Regions from separate parts of the Homo sapiens genome. Here region 2 is linked to region 1. Evidence: promoter capture Hi-C in human tissues and cell types (Jung and others, 2019). All regions are on one chromosome and are shown on one strand. Each heading gives the region's core, a stretch centred on a gene start or on the middle of the fragment in contact. The rest is flanking DNA. Distances are from core to core; before and after follow the strand shown.

The links. Contacts are between HindIII fragments. The study calls those that stand out against the background at their distance.
Region 2: a contact is called between a fragment that was not itself captured here and the fragment with the promoter of GPR87 in region 1, in 2 of the 25 tissues and cell types used here (H1 embryonic stem cells and adrenal gland).

Annotation. Positions count from the first base shown.
Region 1 is chr3:151,312,283-151,319,535 of GRCh38, forward strand. GPR87 (G protein-coupled receptor 87) reads right to left here and starts at 4,538. Exons shown (of 3, transcript NM_023915.4): 1 at 4,304-4,538. The region is part of intron 16 of MED12L (mediator complex subunit 12L); the gene reads left to right. RefSeq lists an enhancer at 3,924-5,123. The HindIII fragment of the contact is 9,815 bases long and covers 1,132-7,253 here.
Region 2 is chr3:151,463,414-151,470,666 of GRCh38, forward strand. It overlaps a transcript of IGSF10 not described here. Among named protein-coding and RNA genes, the nearest start is that of IGSF10, 6.0 kb to the left of the region's middle. The HindIII fragment of the contact is 5,439 bases long and covers 1,250-6,688 here.

The DNA.
Region 1 (7,253 bases), core at 3,288-5,787:
CTTGGATCTCTCTTTTTAGTTCTCAGCCTGAGAGCCACAGAGCTTCATACTCTAGTATGTGCAAACAGTCCAAGTATTCTGTTAACTTTTTTCTTTCTTAACTAGATCATAAGCTCCTTTAGTACAGGGACTTCAGATCATTTTGTTTCTGCTGCCCTTTTGGTATACTGGCCTTTGCTTTGGAGGCATTCCGAATCTTGATATAGTCAGTAAAGGGTACCCTCTAGACTCAAGGACTTGGAAAACAAAGTTTCACTTTGTTATATGTCCTCCAGAGAGTTTCTCTGGTGGTCAAGAGACAGTAATATCTTTGACCTGAGAGCCTGTTCAGGCTACAGGGCAAAACCCTTTCTGGGAGCTTGAGAAGTCTAAGTGTCTATCTTGCTACATACAACAACAGTAAAAGAGCTCCCCAAATGCTGGCTAGTATTATTGTGTGCCTAGAAGTGTTCTAAATTACCTATGTATATTTTAATTTATTAAAAGGACTTTGGATTCACATTACAGGTTTGCCACTTACTTGGGCAGGTTACCCAACCCCTCTGTGCCGCCTTCTTCTGTAAAACAGCCCTCATAAGATTGTTTTGAATGAAGTATTACCATAGCATAGACCTTTTATTCAAACTTGACATGTAGTAATAACTCAGTATTGACATGCTACTTGAGTGGGTAGTAAGAATTAGTACTCTAGTTTTTCAGATGAAAAAACCTGAGGCTTAGAGAGAATACTTGGAATACAATATACTTGGGCTATTTGCACATGTTATTTGTTCTTTGAGCAGATATGTGCTGTCGCTGGAGTGCTAGAGCTTGCCCTCATTAACACCACTAATGAGGGGCAGAGCCTGGATTTGAACAGAACGTAAGCCCATCTCAGTGCTGTGCTCCTAACTACCGCTCTGCTACTGCCTGCACAGAAGTTTGGTATTCATGTGCTGATTAGCACCTGATGCCTCCTTTGGGAAAACTACCAAGTTAAAATAGCTCCAACTTGATTGCAGGGGATCATGCACCCAAGTTGGCCATTTATCTACTGTAGTCTATACTATGGTACTAGTATATGGTAAATATACAATAAGTCTATATCATTTTACATATGAAACTACCCACAAAAAGAGGTAACAGCAAATACAGCGTGGTTGACTGTGGGCAGTGGTTCAAGGTCAGAGCTGTGCTCCCTACTGTTATGCTTGTTAAGCCTCAGTTTGCTCAGCTGTAAAAGTGGATAATAGTAATTTATACCTTAAGGTTGTCTGAGTTAAAAAAAAAAATGCATGATAAGGCCAGGTGCGGTGGCTCACACCTGTAATCCCAGCACTTTGGGAGGCCGAGATGGGTGGATCACCGGGTCAAGAGATTGAGACCATCCTGGCCAACATGGTGAAACCCCGTCTCTACTAAAAATACAAAAATTAGCTGGGCATGGTCGTGGGCGCCTATAATCCCAGCCACTTAGGAGTCTGAGGCAGGAGAATTGCTTGAACCCAGGAGGCAGAGGTTACATGGTGGTGGGCGCCTATAATCCCAGCCACTTGGGAGGCTGAGGCAGGAGAATCGCTTGAACGCAGGAGGCAGAGGTTGCAGTGAGCAAAGATCACGCGACTGCACTCCAACCTGGTGACAGAGCGAGACTCCGTCTCAAAAAAAAAAAAAATTGCATGATAAAATATGCAGTAATCTTGTCACATATCAAGCTAGATGTATATGCTAATTATTGTTGTTTTAGTATTAAGGATAGAAGGACAGTTTGTGCCATACGGATCCTATCTAGTACATTAGAAAAGGTCATTTAAGGAGCTTTGCTCTTCTTTTAAAATGATGGAAATCATTAGAAATTACTGTTTAAGAGAAACTATAGAATCATTGATATAAATGACTTAATGTCATGGCTTACACTAAATGGAACTTAATCAGTGCTCTCGCTTAAATGTATTTTAGTGTAATTTTTTAAATGTTTGGCCAATAATAATATTAATGAAACAAAATATGTTAATTAGGTACAAGATAGAGAACAAATATTCTATTCTGCCTGTGTTTGCCATATAAGGAGGGAGAGGATTTCGTAATATTTGTAAGGTCAGAAAGAACCTGTCTTTCACCATTGGCCTGAAGCAGAAGGTCTGAGAGGTGGGTGCATCTCATCTAGTTTTTAACAGCAGGGTCACCTTGCATTTGCTTCTGCTCTTGCCTCCCTGCTTTAGATAGTTACAAGTATAAGAACTGCAGCTGGCACTTGTATTAATACTTGTATTAATGCAAAACTTTCAGCCAGGTAGGAAGAGCAAATAGTACATTCATCTTCATCTTGTAGAGGAAGAATCTGAGACCTAGCGAAGTCGAGATTTGATTAACATCACGTAGCTGGCTAGGGGCAGAATTGGGAAGGTCCTCATTTGTGGCTCTACCCCATTTCCTCTCAAGCATTCCTGTGTGCTTGGTCCAAGCCTTGGGTTCTTTCATTACCAACCCCAGCGTCTCAGCATATCACCTGGATCGTGGGAATCTAGAGATGCAAGGGGCCTCTAATGACCCTCTGATCTAATCCCTTCATTTTACCTGTGAGGAAGGGAAGTGAGCTCCTGGGGAATTCAGAGACTTGCCTAAGTCACACTGATAATATTTGGTACAATCAGCCCTTAAACCCAGGTCATTTTGCTGTGAGTCCTGGGCTTTCTACTTTAAACCCAAACTACTGCCTCTTGCCTGCATAGAGAACATCTACCCTGGAGACTGGGGGATGCTTCTAGGGAGGTGACTTTACGTAGATTTCACCTCACTTCTGTCCTGTCTTCACAACCTTACCCTTTATTGGGCTTTGAGGGATTTTCATGGATTTTCCAGGCTTTTCTTATTTCAGGAGCATACAAGGAACTAATGGCCATTGTGGTCTCCTCTATCTTAACTTTCCTTGGTATTTTCTCAGAGTAAAGAGCTAAGCGTGAAATATTTTGTTGTTGTGGTTCTTAAAGAGAGTTAAATGCCAAGATATTAAGGAAGAAAAGCAGGCAGACTCTGAAGAGCACAAACAGCACAACTCTAAATAAGAACATTCCTTTTAACTTAGTCTTCCTTTTCCCACCCACATCTCTGAATGCAGTAAATCCTCTTAGCATGTTATCTCTGGTTAGGGCATTTTCTCAGTGTCTTCATGAAATAAAGATTTTCTGGCGGGATACTTTCTTTTTATAGGCTGTATCCTTAAATATGAAATTCAGCCATCCATCTGCTCTTCTAGGCCCTTGTCCTTAACCCATGTATACCTGCAACACATTTCAAGTAGAGGTCAGAAACAAGAGTCTGAGGATGAGATGTTGCTGAAGGATTAAGAGAATATGCCTCTTTGATCCCTAACTTCATGGAGACAGTTAATCTCAATTGGCAGAAATAATAAATATCAACAGGGTGTCTGGCTTTTTTCCCCCCAGTATAAAGTAATATAGAACCAGATTTGTTGCTGTTCATATTGCTAGTAAATTGGAGAACAATTATGAAAGAAATCTCTTGTTAAAAATGTTAATATACCTAAAATAAAAGCAGATTCAACTTGAGAATGTGATGTAAAATTCCATAGCAGATAAATCTTAAAATAAGAAATCAAAAAGTCACTCTACTTTAGGCTCATCTATCTTTTAAAAGTCCTTATTAAAATTTAAAAGAACTGAGATCTCCATGCTTGCTTCTTGTTTTCCTCATTGCAGTGAAAACTTCCCAAACAGTTTGAATGTGGAACAACAGTAAGCTGTTCCTAACCTGTTTGTCAGTCACTGGGCAGTTTTCTCAGTGCCTTTCCTGACATGTTTTAACATGACTTCTCCAGGGATCAGAATGAGGATTGCCCTGTTCTTTGTGGTACAATGAAAAGACTGAGATTATTTTATCAAAATGAGACAGTTGGGAAAGAGAAAAATCTTTGTCTCTCTCTTTAAAAAAAAACAATACGGATAAACGATTATGAAACAAATTTTAAGTTTTGGGTCCTGGGAAACAATTATAAGAGACTTTGACTTTTACTCATCTAATAAAGTAAATGTGGTTTAAAAAAAAATGTACTAAATAGGAGTGATTGCCAAAACATTGTTTCTACTTTTGAAGGCACAATATGTAGTTTATATTTCTGCCTGCCTGAGCTGGAAACAGTTGAAGCTTCATGGCTCACAGTGGTGCCTCATATCTTACTGTCAGCATTCTAATTTCTAGTTTTTCTTCAAACCTCAGAGTTAAGCAGAAGTATAATTACAGTTTTTAATCATTGCTGTGTCTTATCAACCACGGCTTTTAAGAAAATGAAAAATTTTTCGTTTACCTTTCATTGTGGTGGCTGGCTGTCCATTCACCTCATACGGTGTCTTCAAGTTGAAACAGGTTTCTTGTCTCTAATTAAGAATAAGCTTTGAAACTAAGGTCGGCAGGGAAGTGGATTTTCTGGTAAAGCATGAAAACGAAACATCTCCCCTACCAGACAAGGTAGGTATCTCCCTTACCCCTTTAGAGATTGTCCTTTGGGGCACCCTTTCAAATTCTCCTGCCAGGCGACTACTGGAACAACTTGCTCTCTTGCTAATGTAAATGACTCATAACTAAGAGTAGGTGAGATTTGTCGACTGGGGAAGAGTATTTCCTGAACCTGCAGGAATCAGATGGTGATTCACCTGAAGGAAACACAGAGGGCTGGAGCTTAGACTGCCAGAAGTCTGCTTAAGGAGTGGGGGATGAAGTCTCGGGTTGGGGCCTACTAACTCATCAGATCCAATTTTTAGGTCATTTTTTTTTTCCAGCCTCCTATTGCTATCTAGAAAACATGTATTTGCAGCCTTCCTGCCAATTAAATTTTGGATTAAAAGAAATAAGAATATGCTTTATGACAGATGAATTCTTTGAAAATATTATTCTACATATTATTTAAAGAGTATTGTTGTAATTGATAACTTTGGAAACTTGTAGTCTTATGAAACTAATGAAATCTGTAGACATATTTTTACACATACACAATAGACATATTTTTACACATACACAATGATAAGTATTCAAAATATGTTAAATTATTCAGGGGCTGGGTTCACTGACTCCTTTGAATGCTGACCTTTAACATAAAACAATTTATTTTATTGCTTTAAAAAAGCATCCAACAATGACAAATTTATATAATCATATCACTTTTTTTTTTTTTTTTTTTTTTTTTTTTTTGTGAGACGGAGTCTCACACTGTTGCCCGGGCTGGTATGCAGTGGCATGATCTCAGCTTGCTGCAACCTCCACCTCCCGGATTCAAGTGATTCTCCTGCCTCAGCCTCCTGAGTAGGTAGGATTACAGGTGCCCACGACTACACCCGGCTAATTTTTTGTATTTTTAGTAGAGACGGGGTTTCTCTATGTTGGCCAGGCTGGTCCTGAACTCCTGACCTCATGATCCGCCCGCCTCAGCCTCCCAAAGTGCTGGGATTACATGTGTGAGCCACTGCGCCCGGCCACTTTTTCTGATTTGTAAATAATTTTCTTGCTTTCAGATGAGAATCTCAAAGATTCTGATATTTTCTTGAATGCAACATTTAAATACATTTAAAAAAATAAAATTTCATCAAATGGAATCAAAACCTGTTATTGTGGATGAAGATAAATGAAAATAATCAAAGGTGAAAACTTTTTTGGAGTGAATAAATCTATAATAGGTATTACTTAGTGTTTACTTGTGTCTTAAGGAAATAATGTGTACGTACTAGTTGATTTTCCTTATGTTTTTACAGAAAAACAAATGGGTGTTTAACTTAAAAATCAAGAGTTGGGTATCAAAATTATATTTTTTGTATTTTCCTATCTGCTTCCTAACCATACAAAAACAGACACCTACAATTTTAATTTTTTTTTTTTTTACATTCTGCTTTGGGTGGATTAAGTATGTTACGGAAAAGTAGCTAGTCCTGGGGAAGGTGTTTGAATAACAATTAGCCAACTTAATAATGGCCTAATCTTTTAAGAATTTGCAGATTTACAAACAATCCTTCATTTAGTTTTGACTCTCTCTGTGCTATTTTATACTTCCCCATTGATTTAGCATTTGAAGCCAGTTTCTTTTCTTTTCTTCTTTTTTTTTTTTTGAAACCAGTTTGTTGTATTTTGAGCAGAAGGGTTATGCTATGCAGACTTTAGTTTGGGAGATTTGTCCTTGTGTTGACCTTTTTGCCATTTTTTCATGATGATTCATAAATAATAAATGAGGTACTGCTCATAATTTGACATTTTACTGCCAGAACAACTAACTGTTAAGTACTAAAGGCATCAGTCAAAGGGAGAAGCATCTCTTATGGCCCCCATAAAAGTATGTTGTGCAAAGAACTTTGCTGCAAGTACTGAGGATTATCACCCCAAATTTCCAGTGATGTGTATAAAATCTTAGTAGGGAGCTTATTCTGACAGATATTTGACAGGCTTCTGTTATAAGAATAAAGACCTTTTAAAAAAAAGAGAGGGCCCTACTGTGAAAGGGTTATCATAGGCCCTTCTAAGTGCGAAGAAGGGCTTGTGAGGGGCCTATGAAATTTTCCTGTATAATGAAGCATCTTTAACTTTATGTGTGATGGTGTTAAGTAGGAAATAAGGTGATGTCCCTTCACTACAGTAGGTGGCCCCCTTTTTCTCCTGAAGTGGGCTTGGGATAGGATGCACTTTTTCCTTTCCCAATACCTCTGTAAGCAACGTGCCCGGGACGGTAGCCTAACAGCTGGCTTGGAGTGTTTCAGTGTTTCGTTGGCTGGCAGCGCAAATTTAGTATAGTAACAAAAAAGTTAACGCAAGGCAGCCTTTATGCGTTAGTCTTAAAGTATATTATGCCAGTCTCAAGTTGGGACTTGTGAAAGCTGGTCTTACCTAACATTCCAAAAGGGAAGTAATACATGTTTAGTCATGAAAAAAGTGTAACACTTTGATGCAAAGAGCAGCTAACAGCCAGCCCATAGCTTTATTATTGTTCACATAATCGAAAGGTAAACCAGCATAATTTTTTTCCTGCTGGTTTTTATAGCAAGTCTCACATTTCATAAAAGCCCCGGGAATCTTCATAGCGATAATTTCCTTTCCACTTCATTGGAAAATCCTGTTAAATGCAGGGCACTCTTTTATTAATTTTGTTTAGCCATTACAAACCCCAAATTTATTTTAAATACAGAACATCCAGGTGTGTGTGTGTGTGTGCGTGTGTGTGTGTGTGTGTGTGTGTGTGTGTGTGTGTGTCGGCCACCAGAAAACTTTAAAAAATTTTG
Region 2 (7,253 bases), core at 2,719-5,218, 150 kb after region 1:
CAGATGAGATTGCTGAGGATAAAGAATGCTAAATGATTCAGAGCCAAAATACAATACTGAATTAATTTTAAAATTGTAAAACCAATGCTTTTAAGCCTTACATTTTCTGGTTTTTTTTTTTTTTTTTTTTTTTTTTTTTTTTTTTTTTCTGAGACGGAGTTTTGCTCTTGTTGCCCAGGCTGGAGTGCAATGGCGCAATCTCGGCTCACCACAACCTCCACTTTCTGGGTTCAAGCAATTCTCCTGCCTCAGCCTCCTGAGTAGCTGGGATTACAGGCACATGCCACCATGGCTGGGCGCAGTGGCTCACACCTGTAATCCCAGCATTTTGGGAGGCCAAGGCGGGAGGATCACCTGAGGTCAGGAATTTGAGACCAGCCTGGTCAACATGGTGAAACCCCGTCTCTACAAAAATACAAAAAAAGCCTTATATTTTCTATCTTCTTCCTGCTTCTATTTATAAAATTTGGAGAGTCCACAGCATATCAAAGAAAAGTTTCACCACTCTTTTTTCTAACCATGCTTAATAATGCAATATGTTTCTATAGATTCATATGGTTTACAAATCACTTTCACCTTTGAACATGGCCTCATTTAATAAGAAATATATGAAATTCAATGATAATGACTTTATTTTGTAATTGTAACTTTATTTTGCAGAAGTTAATTGAGTGTATAATTTGCCAAGATCTCAGAGCTGAGCATAGCGACTCTGAGTTAATTGTCAATCTGAACTCCTAAACCTGTGTTTCCTGGACTACGGTAATTTACCTACGCTTTAAGGATGGTTTGACATTTTAATTACCTCTCACTATAGTTTTACCTAATGATTTTCTTTAAATCCTCCCCCTCTTTTTGTTACTCTTTTCTTAAACAGTATTGTTGGTAAATTCTCAGGCTTTGTATTTTTTCTAGTAAACACGACAATAAATATACATCTTCTTCACCTTTTATATCACCCCTGAGAATTACATTTCCCCTCATCTCTAGGTCTTTGACATTATTTGCTGTCTTTTCTAGTAATTACTACTTCTTACTCCTCATCCTTAATTTATCATCCATACCATCCTTTACATCACCCTCCTAATCAGAGTATTTATTTAACACCAATCAACCAAGCGCAAGCAGTTACAAGTCATAGATCACCTGACAATCAGAACAAGCTATGAATTTTAAAACTGACTTATATATGTGTCAACAGATAACCAAATGCCAAAATTGTTACATATCTTTTAATCAGGCACAATCATTACCACCTCCCAGCTCCACAATTTTCATATTATTCAATTAACCAAACAGTCAAGACCTCCACTGAGTGATTCCAATAGCAGTGAAGTAGACTGACATCTTAGCCCTTCCTTTTTTGAAGTTACAGACTAGCACGGTAAGTGATAAGTGCCATGAAGAGACATAATGCAGGAAAAGGAGGTAGAAAGAAAATCAGTATCATCTTTCTTCCAATACAGTTGCAACTCAACCAACTAAAGTCAAACTACATGACTTGAAGACTTTATATATAGTATTCCAGATCTCTAACCTTTCAGAGCTTTCAGAACACCATGTATGGGTACAGTTTTGGAAGATGTGGAGAAAAATTTGAAGCAAATGCATGGTCCTCTTATAAGTCCATGGACTCTGGATTATAGGAAATAGAAAAACTACCTAGGAGGCAATTATAATAGTCCAGCCTTAAGACAATGAATTAAAGTGGTGGTTGTGAGAATAAATAAAGATTTTAGATCTGGAGGAACAAGAGTTAAGATTTTACTTAGGGAATAAAAGAGAGGATGGATGAATCTCACATTTTTGTTAGTGACATCCAAGGATCCTAGGAAAGCCAGGGCTGAAGTAGATAAAAGTTAGAAACCTGATATAGATGCAAACCTGAGAGAAGACTAAGGCAGAAGGAGCACAAGAATGACCATTGTTGTTGTCAAGAGTTTAGAAATAGGTGCCTGAAGAGCAGCTCTGCTGACTTTAGTTTTGTACTCTGGTCGCTGTAAATGCTCTGTGTTGCTTTTATGATAAGTATTGTATCAAAAGCCATTGGTTGAGGTTTGCAGAACTCACCATGATTTCTTAAGCCTGGGTAGGAGATGCACCTAAGAGATTTGAGAACTCTTCTAGTTTCTTCTTCTTTTTAATGAAAAGACATTATTATTACTTTACTATATAACATATTAGTGAATACGGCAGCTTGTATTTTCTCAAATGGGAAATGGCAAATGAGGCACATTTTTCTGATTTCTCCAGGAAGCTCAGTATCATCTGTCTTTTGGAGGATTTAATTTCTTATGACATCTGTCATACTATCCAGAGGATACCAATGGTGCTGTTACAGCAAACTAAATATGGCCTGAGAGGGACGTTGTACTTCTATATTTGAGTCCTTGTGGATGAACTGTAATCTAATTTAATCGGTAGACAAGATTGAAAACCTAACTTAGGAATATGCACCTGTAACAATTGCTGAGTCTTGGCCAATCCTAGCAGTCATACTTCAACCACTCATGCACTGCTGAGTGTCAAACTGTGTTCAAATAAGGCAAATGCCAACCTGTAACCAATCCAGCTGTTTCTGTACCTCACTTCTGATTTCTGTATATCATTTTCCTTTTTTTGTCTATAAATTTTTTCTGACCACGAGGCATCCCTGTAGTCTCTCTGAATCTGCGGTATTTCTGGAGGATGTCCAATTCATGAATCGTTTTTTTCCTTGTTCAATTAAACTTTGTCAAATTTAATTTGTCTGAAGTTTTAACAGATCTGGCATCAGAAGTGGGATTCAAAGTAAAACTCTGGCGACCCCCAGAAATACCAGGTGACCAGGCGAGGTACCCGCTGAGCCCATTGTGCTCACTGTTCTCTTGATTGTAAATGGAGGTCATGGGTGAGTTTTCTCTCAGATTCTGAACTCCAGTAACTTGTGTTTTGGGGTCTCTGAGTTTACTTGAGCAATACTTAGACTGCACCGAGTCTAAGATCAAATTGGATTTGATAATTAACTGGATTGAATTCAATTAGAGGCCTTGGACCTTGGGTAGGTACTTTATTTTTAATAATGGAATTATCTCAGTCCAAGGAGTCTGGGACTCCACCTTCTGGAACTCCAGCTAATTTTATGTATAAAAATTATGGGCCCAGCACGTGTTTTTGTTTTGTTTTGTTTTGTTTTGTTTGTTCGAGATAGAGTCTCACTCTGTCTCCCAGGCTGGAGTGCAATGGCACAATCTCAGCTCATTGCAGCCTCCACCTCCTGGGTTCAAATGATTCTCCTGCCTTCGCCTCCCGAGTAGCTGGGACTACAGGCACCTGCCACCATGCCCAGCTAATTTTTGTATTTTTAGTAGAGACAGGGTTTCACCATGTTGGTCAGGCTAGTCTTGAACTCCTGACCTCAGGTGATCCACCCGCCTCGGCCTCCTAAAGGGCTAGGATTACAGTAGTGAGCCATTATGCCTGGCTCAACGTGTGCATTTTTAGAAAAATGGGTTAACCCCACTAAAGAGAACTTAAGATGGTCGAAATGAGGAAGTTATAATTTGGAAAAAATTGTGTATTTGTGAGGCATATTGGAAAAAGACTATGTCCCACAGAAACAGTGGGACATAGTCTTTCATTGGTATGCAGAGGTCTCCAAAAGACTAAATGAATCAAAAATTAACTCCTTGAAAGATTCTTTGCAAAAAGCAAATGGAAAGCTTAGGCACCAGACCAAGGACATGACAAAAGAGGGCTGTGCTCTGACTGAACTAACTTCGACTGTTTCTTCTCTTTATCCATTTCTGCCTATATACTGAGTCCACTAACCTTTTTGCTAAATTACCCTTTCACCCTGAAGATGATGAAAAAGAGGAAGTTAGATGCCTTACAAAGTAAGACCTGATCAGCCAGGCCTGTCTGCTATAACTACTTTCACTCCATGGTCTAAAACTGAGCTTAAAGTTTTGTGAAGGACTTCCCTTATTCAAGGGAAAATCTCAAAAATTTACTGAGGAATTTAGAATCCTAATAGGAGCTTACAAGCCAGGGCTTCCTGACCTTTACCAATTTATTCACATGATATTAGGGCCTGATGAAGCTCAAGAATGGATGGCAGTAGCAGAATGGGACAAACCTGAGGAGGGTATTAAAGACCCCTCCAAAAGCTCCTCATGAGAAGGACCAAAAGTAGCTAGAAAAATGGCTGAGCCGGGCGCGGTGGCTCACGCCTGTAATCCCAGCACTTTGGGAGGCCGAGGTGGGTGGATCACGAGGTCAGGAGATCGAGACCGTCCTGGCTAACGCAGTGAAACCCCGTCTCTACTAAAAATACAAAAAATTAGCCGGGCGAGGTGGCGGGCACCTGTAGTCCCAGCTACTCGGGAGGCTGAGGCAGGAGAATGGCGTGAACCCCGGGGTCAGAGCCTGCAGTGAGCCGAGATCGTGCCACTGCATTCCAGCCTGGGCGACAGCGAGACTCCATCTCAAAAAAAAAAAGAAAAAAGAAAAAAGAAAAAAAGAAAGAAAAATGGCTGAAAACATTTTACATTCAATTTCTAATATTTTTCTGCAAAAAGTTGATTAGTCTGTCATACAATCTTGTAAACAAAAACAAAAGGATGAACCAGTTTGAGATTACAGAACTCGCTTAGAGACATTGTTTGTGAAACATTCTGGGCTTAAAGTACGGCAAGGAGTATTTCCTGCAGGGACTGAAATAGCATTAACTGCTCTATTATAAATGGACTCCGTCCTGAACTTAGAAGTTTAATTAAAAAACATAAGCTTGGATGGGAAGTTACAGATATGACTGAATTGGTGGCTTTAGCTGAACATTTTGAGAGGACTCTAGAGCAAGAAAAAGCTCAAAAAGCTAACAAGCTGACCCTTCAGTTACAATGGCTACAGGGGCTGCGACCAAAGGGACCTTTCTCATTCTCATTTTAAATCACAACCGAGAGATCCTAGAACAAGAAATTCTTTACCCCAAGATATCTGCCTTTATTGCAAACAACCAGGGCATTGGAAAAGGGATTGACCGCTTTTATGTAAGAGGTCTGCCAATAAGCCTCCCTTTAGGCTGAACTGTTTCTCCACTAGAGGGAGCCCAAGAGACCTTAGCCCTCCTGATAATGGCATTGACGGGGCTCCCAGGGATTCTCTACTAAATTGCTCCCGTAATACCTTTAAATGAACATGGAGAAACAGGTTAAAATAAATGGGGAGTCGTGTACAGTCCCGATGAATACTGGAGCTATTCTATCTACCATAAACCCCACTTTAATAAGCCAGTAAATCCCTAGAAGTAAAAAGGGTCATTTTTGTGAGGGTTGTTTGTATTTTTAAAATTTATTTTACGTTCCAGGATACATGTACAGGACGTGCAGGTTACATAGGTAAATGTGTGTCATGGTGGTTTGCTGCACCTATCAACCCATCACCTAGGTATTAAGTCCTGCACCCATTAGCTATTTATCCTGATGCTCTCCCTCCCCCTGCCCTGCTGCCTAGGCCCCAGTGTATGTTGTTCCCCTCCCTGTGTCCATGTGTTCTCATTGTTCAGCTCCCACTTATAAATGAGAACATATGGTGTTTGGTTTTCTCTTCCTGCATTAGTTTGCTGAGGATAATGGCTTCCAGCTCCACCCATGTCCCTGCAAAGGATATGATTTCATTTCTTTTTTATAGCTGCATAGTATTTCATGGTGTATACTTACCACAGTTTCTTTATTCATTCTATCATTGTTGGGCATTTGGGTTGATTCCATGTCTTTGCTATCGTGAATAGTGCTGCAATGAACATATGCATGCATGTATCTTTATAATAGAATGATTTACATTCCTTTGGGTATATACCCAGTAATGGGTTTACTGGGTCAAATGGTATTTCTGTTTCTAGGTTTTTGAGGAATTGCCACAGTCTTCCACAATGGCTGAAATAATTTACATTCTGTGGTGGGGGTTTCAAATCAAGTTCAAGACATTCCTGTATCTGAACCCATCCAATTAACATTGGGGCCCTTTTCAGAAAAATATACTTTTGTACTATGTGATGCTGCTCCAGTAAACTTGTTAGGGTGAGATTTACTTTCAAGTTAAAAGGGCATGTAAACCTTCTTCAGAGTTTCCTGATTCTCCTGAAGCAGAATTGTTATGCTGTCTACAGAAATAAATTGATAAGATAGAAACTCAGGCCTGTAATACCCCTGATCTCTCAAAAATACTTGAATGTTTATGGGCCTCTTCCCCAACTGATATAGGAAGAATTAAAAGTGTGCAACCTATGAAAGTCCAAATAGATCATCCTAAACCTTTGCCTAAATTACCCCAATATCCACTAAAATCTGAAGCAATTCAAGAGCTCTAACCAATTGTAGAAGATTTAATTAAACAAGGACTCATACTCCCATGCAGGAGCCCTTGTAACACTCCAATCCTAGCAGTTAAAAAGCCAAAAGGATGAGGTTGAAGATTTGTTCAAGATTTACAGGCAATAATAAAATTGTAATACCAAGATTTCCCGTAGTCCCAAATTCTAATATTTTATTATCTAATGTACCCACTGATTCCAAGTGTTCACAATAATAGATCTCTGCTCAGCCTTCTTTAGCATTCCAGTTTATAAAGAGAGTCAATACTAGTTTGCCTTTACTTGGTAAAATCAGCAGTACACTTGGCCTGTAATGCCACAAGGATTTACCAAAGCCCTTTCTATTTTTCCCAGGCATTGCATCAAGACTTAATGACACTACAGTTGCCTCAAAATTCTACTCTCATTCAGTACATAGATGAATATATGCTGTCCCACTAAGGAGTGCTCTGTAATGGACTCAGTTTACCTTTTACAGCAACTTTCATACAAAGGTCACAAGGCTTCAGTGGAAAAACTTAAGTTTTCAAGGCAAAAAGTCCACCATTTGGGATGTGACTTGGCTGCTGAAGGAATTTCCCTCTCAACTAAGAGGATAACAGCTATTCAAAGTTTTCCTTGACCTGCAACCAAAAGACAATTAAGAAGTTTTCTTGGACTTGCAGGATGTTGCAGATTCTGAGTTCCAATTTTTTCCTTAATAGCTTCACCATTGTATGAGCTCACTAATAATGCTATACCAGAGCCTTTACCTTGGGAAGACAGTCATGAGCAGGCTGTTGGCCAAATAAAGTTGACCTTACAACAGCCCTCATCTTTAGGACTTCCAAATTACACTAAACCTTTCACCTTGTTTGTTCATGAGTGTAACAATCAGGCATTAGGAGTCCTTGCTCAAGAA